Regions from separate parts of the Homo sapiens genome. Here region 1 is linked to region 2. Evidence: promoter capture Hi-C in human tissues and cell types (Jung and others, 2019). All regions are on one chromosome and are shown on one strand. The core of a region is centred on a gene start or on the middle of the fragment in contact, and the rest is flanking DNA. Distances in the headings are between cores, read along the strand shown. Region 1 overlaps TRIM8 (tripartite motif containing 8). Region 2 holds the start of PPRC1 (PPARG related coactivator 1).

Region 1 (3,324 bases), core at 1-2,500, 520 kb after region 2:
GACAGTGGGTAAGCAACATGACCTCCCCAGCCTCCATTTCTTCAGCTTAAAGTGGGGATATAACTATTCTGTACCTCCTAATGGTAGAGGAGCAAGCATCACCTGAGATGTAACATTCTTGGGCCTCTAGGTGTCAATGGTCCCCAGGTCCAACCCAGGGAGAGGAGGCCTGGGTTGCTTGGGGTGGGAGCTTTGGCGACTTTTGCCCCAACTCTCCACAGGCCCCTTCAGCACGCCGGTGCCCTTCCTGCAGAGTGTCCCCCTGTACCCTTGCGGCGTGAGCAGCTCTGGGGCGGAAAAGCGCAAGCACTCAACGGCCTTCCCAGAGGCCAGTTTCCTAGAGACGTCGTCGGGCCCTGTGGGCGGCCAGTACGGGGCGGCGGGCACAGCCAGCGGTGAGGGCCAGTCTGGGCAGCCCCTGGGGCCCTGCAGCTCCACGCAGCACTTGGTGGCCCTGCCGGGCGGCGCCCAACCAGTGCACTCAAGCCCCGTGTTCCCCCCATCGCAGTATCCCAATGGCTCCGCCGCCCAGCAGCCCATGCTCCCCCAGTATGGCGGCCGCAAGATTCTCGTCTGTTCTGTGGACAACTGTTACTGTTCTTCCGTGGCCAACCATGGCGGCCACCAGCCCTACCCCCGCTCCGGCCACTTTCCCTGGACAGTGCCCTCGCAGGAGTACTCACACCCGCTCCCGCCCACACCCTCCGTCCCCCAGTCCCTTCCCAGCCTGGCGGTCAGAGACTGGCTTGACGCCTCCCAGCAGCCCGGCCACCAGGATTTCTACAGGGTGTATGGGCAGCCGTCCACCAAACACTACGTGACGAGCTAACGCCACGCAGGCGGCGGGGCGCTGGGGAATCTTCCTCCCCAGCCCCCGGGCTCGGGAGTTATGCATCCAGAGACCTGCCCTTCTACCTTCCTCGCCTCCCCTCTTCCTCATTCCATTGCCCCAGGTCTTTTCCTTTTGGATTTTGTTTTGGTTTTGGCTTTGTTTTTGATTTTTTTTTATTATGAATCTCCTGGACGCAGAGGTGACAGTGGGAGCTGGCCTGGGCCAGGACGGCAGGTGGCCCTGGAGATGGGAAAGTGTCTGTGTCGAGGCGCTGAGCTCTCTCTCTGTTTCTCCTTTTTTCCTCTACTCCTTCCCCTTCACACCCCCGTGGCTGGAAGGAACCTCGGCTTCCCTGAAAGCTTGGGGGTCCCACCCTTCTTACCCCACCCGGGAGGAACGCCCAGGGCCCCGGGCTTGTTTCTCCTCTTGTTTTCCTTTTGGGCAGTTTGATCACTGATCGAGTAAGGAATGACCTTTAGATTGTGCGACTTTTGTTTTTGTTTTTTTAAATTTTTTTAAACCAAGAATGATTTCTCCTGCTTCCTTCTCCTCACCATCTTCCCAGACGGAGTTCAAAGGCCACTTCTCAAGCAGCTTTTGGCACCTTCAGCCTCAGAGTGGAATCTTTTAAAGACAGGACCCCTATGTCCAGGAAAGGGGAAAAGGAACTTTGCCAATGATAGTGACCACAGCAAAAGCAAATAATAATAATATTAATAATAATAAAGAGAAATAAAATAATAAAATAAAAAACAATAGCACAGCCCTTGTTGAGGTCAGCAGGGAGGAGGGGCTGCCCGGAGTTGGGTCCTTGCCTGGATTTTGACACAGCAACTTCCTGTAGTGAGCACTTTGTATGAATCGTGGACTTCCTGTTCTCAAGGCGCAGGTATTTATTCTGTATCTGTCTAGAGCACACACCAAAATCCAACCTTCTAATAAACATGATGGCGCAGTCCCACTCCCTGCCTCGCCTGTTCCCCTATCCCCCCCAGGCCTGGGATCTTCAGGCGTCGGTGTGGGGAGGGGCCCCTGCCCTCCTTGCCTTGATTTTGCTCCCCTGGGTCCAGCTGGTTCCAGGCCTGTGAATGTCAGTTCGTCGGGCACTGACTCCGTCTGCTCTTGGCCTTGGGTTCATTTGACAAATATTTGCCCAGGGCCTCCCAGGCCCAGCCCCATGCCACCTGGGCCCCGGCATCTCTTTGAGGTTCTGCCAATGTGCTCTTAGCTGAGGACGAAGGAGGAACACCTTTCTATGAGTCTTGCAAAGTTTACCTCCTTCAGGCCACAAATATTTGAGTGCACACTACGTGCCAGGCACTGTGCAGGGCTGCAGGCATAGAGACAGAATGTAATCTAGCTGGGCCTTGGACCCCATAGGGAGAGGGGACCACTCAGGTCCATACTTCCTTTGGACTTGGGGCTTTGGCCTTGGGAGGGGTGGAGGTGGGGTGGCAAGATGAAAAAGACATCCTGCCCCCATCCACTTCGGCAGAGCTTCTCAAAGTCTCAAGCATGTCTTGGGAGCTTGTTAAAAGGGCCGATTCCTTGCTGTGGCTCACGCCTGTAATCCTGACATTTTGGGAGGCCAAGGCAAATTGCCTGAGCTCAGGGGTTTGAGACCAGCCTGGGCAACATGTCGGAACCCTGTTTCTACAAAAAATACAAGAATTAGTTGGGCGTGGTGGGGCACACCACACCTGTGGTCCCAGCTACTCTGGGACTGAGGTGGGAGAACTGCTTGAGCCTGGGAGGCAGAGGTTGCAGTAGGTCTAGATCAAGTCACTGCACTCCAGCCTGTGCAACAAAACAACAGAGCAAGACCCTGTCTCAAAAAAAAAAAAAAAAAAAGGGTAAGGGTGCTGATTCCTGAGGCCTAGCTTAGACTCATCGGGAATCTCTGAGAGCCCAGGAATTTGCATTTTTAACTCTATTCTCCCATATCCTGGGTTTAGAGAAGTGCTGCCATTGTGGTGGTCAGGGTCCTCCCTGCTGCTTGTCACAGAGGCCACTGCGGGGAGAGGAAGCTGGGACACCCCCAAGGCCCTTCTCTGGAGAGGGGCCTCACCTTCAAAAAGGCTCCGGTTGTTGCCTGATGCTCTGCACAGAGCTGTAAGTCCGCAGCCCATGCACTTCTGTAATCTGCTGGGTGCCTAGTTATCTTTCTTCTTGTTTGGGCAGAATCCGGGCCTGAATGCCACCCACCCCAGGAAGCCCAGGACAAGGCAGACAGCCTTGTAAAGTCCCATTCCTGCCAGGCGCGGTGGCTCATGCCTGTAATCCCAGCACTTTGGGAGGCTGAGATGGGCGGATCACCTGAGGTCGGGAGTTCGAGACCAGCCTGGTCAACGTGGTGAAATTTCATCTCTATTAAAAATACAAAAATTAGCCGGCATGGTGGTGGGCGCCTGTAGTCCCAGCTACTCAGGAGGCTGAGGCAGGAGAATCGCTTGAACCTGGGAGGCAGAGGTTGCAGTGAGCCGAGATCGTGC
Region 2 (3,477 bases), core at 653-3,152:
TGAGCCAAGATCGCGCCACTGCACTCCAGCCTGGTGACAGAGTGACACTCCATCTCAAAAAAAAAAAAAAAAAAATTAGCTGGGCATGGCAGTGTGTACCTGTAGTACCCAGCTACTCTGGAGGCTGAGGCAGATGGATCCTTTGAGCTTGAGAGATCACAGTGAGCTATGCTATGATCTGCCACGGCACTCTTGCTCACCGCACTCCACACTGCAGCCCTGGGTGACAGAGTAAAACCCTATTGTCTAACAAAAAAAAAAAAAAGAAAGAACATCTAAGAAAAGGTCCAGAAAAGGTCCTCTCTTTTCATGAACATGTGTGGGGATGTATAGTGATGCAATATTTCTAAAGGGCAATTTTCTACTGTATTTCAAATACATGCATTGTTTAACTCGGCACTTGAATTTCATGGAAACTATTCCACAGAAAGATTGCACAAAAGTGCAAAGGTACATGTACATGACATATGCAAGGGTGTTCATCATAATAATATGTAATAGTGAGAAACTGTAAACAACTTAAATATTATTTATTTTTGAGAAGAAGTCTCACTCTGTCACCCAAGTTGGAGTGCTGTGGCATGATCTTGGCTCACTACAACCTCCACCTCCTGGGTTCAAGCAATCCTCCTGCCTCGGCCTCCCGAGTAGCTGGGACCACAGATGTGTGCCACCATGTCCAGCTAATTTTTAAATTTTTGGTAGAGGTGGGGTTTTGCCATGTTGTCCAGGCTGGTCTCAAACTCCTTAGTTCAAGTGATTCACCCACTTCAGCCTCCCAAAGTGCTGGGACTACAAGTGTGAGTCACCGAGCCACGGCCAGAAACAACTTCAATATAATTTAAATAACAATACATTCATAAAATAGAACTGGTGCTAAAGGCTCAGTAAATATTTAGCTAGTGAGTGGATTAACATATTGTTACATAAAAAAAGCAAATCACCAATTTGTGCCCCTATATATTTTTCCATTCATAGAAAAAAGCGTCAATGAATACACACTAAAAGTAACAAGGGGTTTAAATCTGGGCAGTAGAACTATAATTTGCAGGCCTACTACTTTTTTTCCTCTAAACAGTCTTGTACTTTTTGAAATAATTTTTGTGCTTTGTAAAAAGTTATTTAAAAATAGCAAATATGAAGTAGCTTTTAAGTGGCAAATGAATGAAGAGTAGAGACAGTGATGGACCGTAGAAACGCAGAGCGGGATCCCTCTTGGCTAGGACAACCAAAGCCTTTCCTAGATTAAATAAGGCATGAAATGTTTTGAGGTTCAAGTATTCCAGGTCGACATATAGGCAGGAGAACACCTGTTGTCTTTAGGGAACAGCAAGGAGACCTGAAACAGCAAGAAACAAATTTGATAGAGAAGGCAACGTAAGTTTCTGAGTAGTAGCAGAGAGGGCGGAGAACGCGACATTTTCCGATTAAGTTTGCAGTACTGCCGCAATATGGGATTAGGTGAGGATTAGCGCTTGGAGCGCAAGTGCCCACTAGGGGGTGGTGTTTCAAAACATATACAGGCCCACTTGGCCCCACTTGGACTAAGGTGAAAGGAACGTACAGCAGGTAGAACGTCAAAGAGGACGTTCCAACAGTTGGACAAGTTAACGACAATAAAATACGCAAATGTTAACTTTCCCCCTAACTGCTGAGCGCTCCCTAAATCGGTATCCCAGTGTAACGCAAAACTAAGCCCTACAGGATGCCTGCAGCTAGTGCCAAACGGTCCCCACTTAAAGGGACTACTACTCCCAGGAACCTTCGCGCGAGGCCAGGGCCTTCTTCCAGGGTGCAAGTGGGTCTCGCCGCACGGCTCTCTGGGATTCGTAGTCTTGCAGTGTCATTCGGGAGTTGTAGTTCCTTTCCCACAATCGGCTGGGCGAGGCGGCGCCAGCGATCAGAGCAGCGCTGGGTGTTCAGGGGCCAAGATGGCGGCGCGCCGGGGACGGAGAGACGGAGTCGCGCCGCCCCCGAGTGGGGGCCCCGGTCCGGACCCTGGCGGGGGAGCCCGCGGCAGTGGTTGGGGAAGTCGAAGCCAAGCGCCGTATGGGACTTTGGGCGCTGTGAGCGGCGGCGAGCAGGTGAGAGGTTGGCTGGCGGCCCGCGACAGGCAGCAAAGCGGTGTGTGCCGGGCGGTGACACGTGGACGCCACAGGAAAGAGAGGAAGCGCCTGAGAGTCGATGCCGGGTGGCCGCGGGAGCCGGGCCGGAGCAAGTGGGCCCTAGGCCGTTTGCTGGGGGTAGGCGGGCAGAGGCAGCGTCTCTACGGCCATTCCTGGGGGACGCCGGAGGGGGAGAGCGGGGTGTCGGAAACATAACCCGCGGCTGGGGGTCAGGGGTTCGGACTTGGGGTCGAAGGCTGAGACCTCCATGTAAGGATGCCCAGTGAGGCTCCCCGAGCCCGGCGCCGCAGTTCCCTTTTCGGAGCCACGTGGGGTTGGGGGAGCAATTTTCCCGGGAGAACTTGTCTGCCTCCCCTCCCCCTCTAGGCGGCCCGGGCATCCACGTGGGTCGGGCTCCTGGTGGAGGGGGGCGCAGGCAGCGGGTCCACGTGGGGGCGGGGAAGGAACGTCCACGTGGCTCCCGTCCCAGGCTGTCGGGCATCTAGTATCGGCCTTGGAGCCTGGCTGACGCGAACTGGGTGTGTCTCCACGGGTCCCGCCATCTCCTGCCGGGGCTGGAGGCCCGGGCCGGGAAGGAAGGTAAGGGCTGCTAGAGTCAACTTTGTTCAGAGCCTTGGAGGTTTTTTTTTTCCCTGCTGCTTGGGTCCGCAACGTCTCTCCACTGCGGATGGTGAAGGACTCTCCAGATGTTGCGGGAGTTTGTTCCCTGCGGATGGCTGAGTGTGATGGGGAGGGTAGAGGGCTGAGGCTGAAGGGTTGTGGAGGAGTGAGTTTGTGGCGCTTCCGTCTGACCGGCTTGGGGTGGGTTGTGAGTCACGGGCATTGGCGTTTTGGTTGCCTTGCAGTCTTGCCTTATTAGTGATTCAAGGGGTATGGGGAGTGTCAACATACACCTGGGACAAGGTTAAGAAAGGGAAAGGGAATCCTCTCCTCACTTTTTCCTCCAGCATCTCTTTTGGGAAGGCATGCTCCTGTAATCTGACACGCAGAAACTGGGGTGGTCCGTACTTAAGGCTCTTCGGATTTTTTGCTGGGGATGGGAAAAGTTGGAGGCGGTTTGAGAACTGTTCAACATGTTCAACAGTTGAACATACACTGGATGAGGAGGATTCTGTTAGATATTTTTTTCTTGGCCTTCAAAAAGTGTTATTGTTCTACTCTACAGTGGAGGGCTTCTTAAAAGTTTCCACCCAGGGTAGAAGGGGCAGGAATTAGTTTGAACTGTTACCTCTCTTAAACAATTAAGCTGAGTCCTTGACAGCATTTTTTGTGTGTTACTAGGTGGGAGTTGGGCTGCAGGCTGCCTGGTAATATCAGGTCCGGCAGACCAATCCAGGCCCTTGCCCAGGGG

What was found. Contacts are between HindIII fragments. The study calls those that stand out against the background at their distance.
Region 1: a fragment that was not itself captured here is called in contact with the fragment with the promoter of PPRC1 in region 2 in 1 of the 25 tissues and cell types used here (stomach).

Annotation. Positions count from the first base shown.
Region 1 is chr10:102,656,526-102,659,849 of GRCh38, forward strand. It overlaps TRIM8 (tripartite motif containing 8), which reads left to right. Exons shown (of 6, transcript NM_030912.3): 6 at 222-1,793. The coding sequence ends at 829. Among named protein-coding and RNA genes, the nearest start is that of TRIM8, 14 kb to the left of the region's middle. The HindIII fragment of the contact is 6,582 bases long and covers 1-3,324 here.
Region 2 is chr10:102,131,138-102,134,614 of GRCh38, forward strand. It overlaps PPRC1 (PPARG related coactivator 1), which reads left to right and starts at 1,903. Exons shown (of 14, transcript NM_015062.5): 1 at 1,903-2,084. The coding sequence starts at 1,932. RefSeq lists an enhancer at 1,726-2,005 and silencers at 1,986-2,165, 2,376-2,425, 2,456-2,575. The HindIII fragment of the contact is 12,055 bases long and covers 1-3,477 here.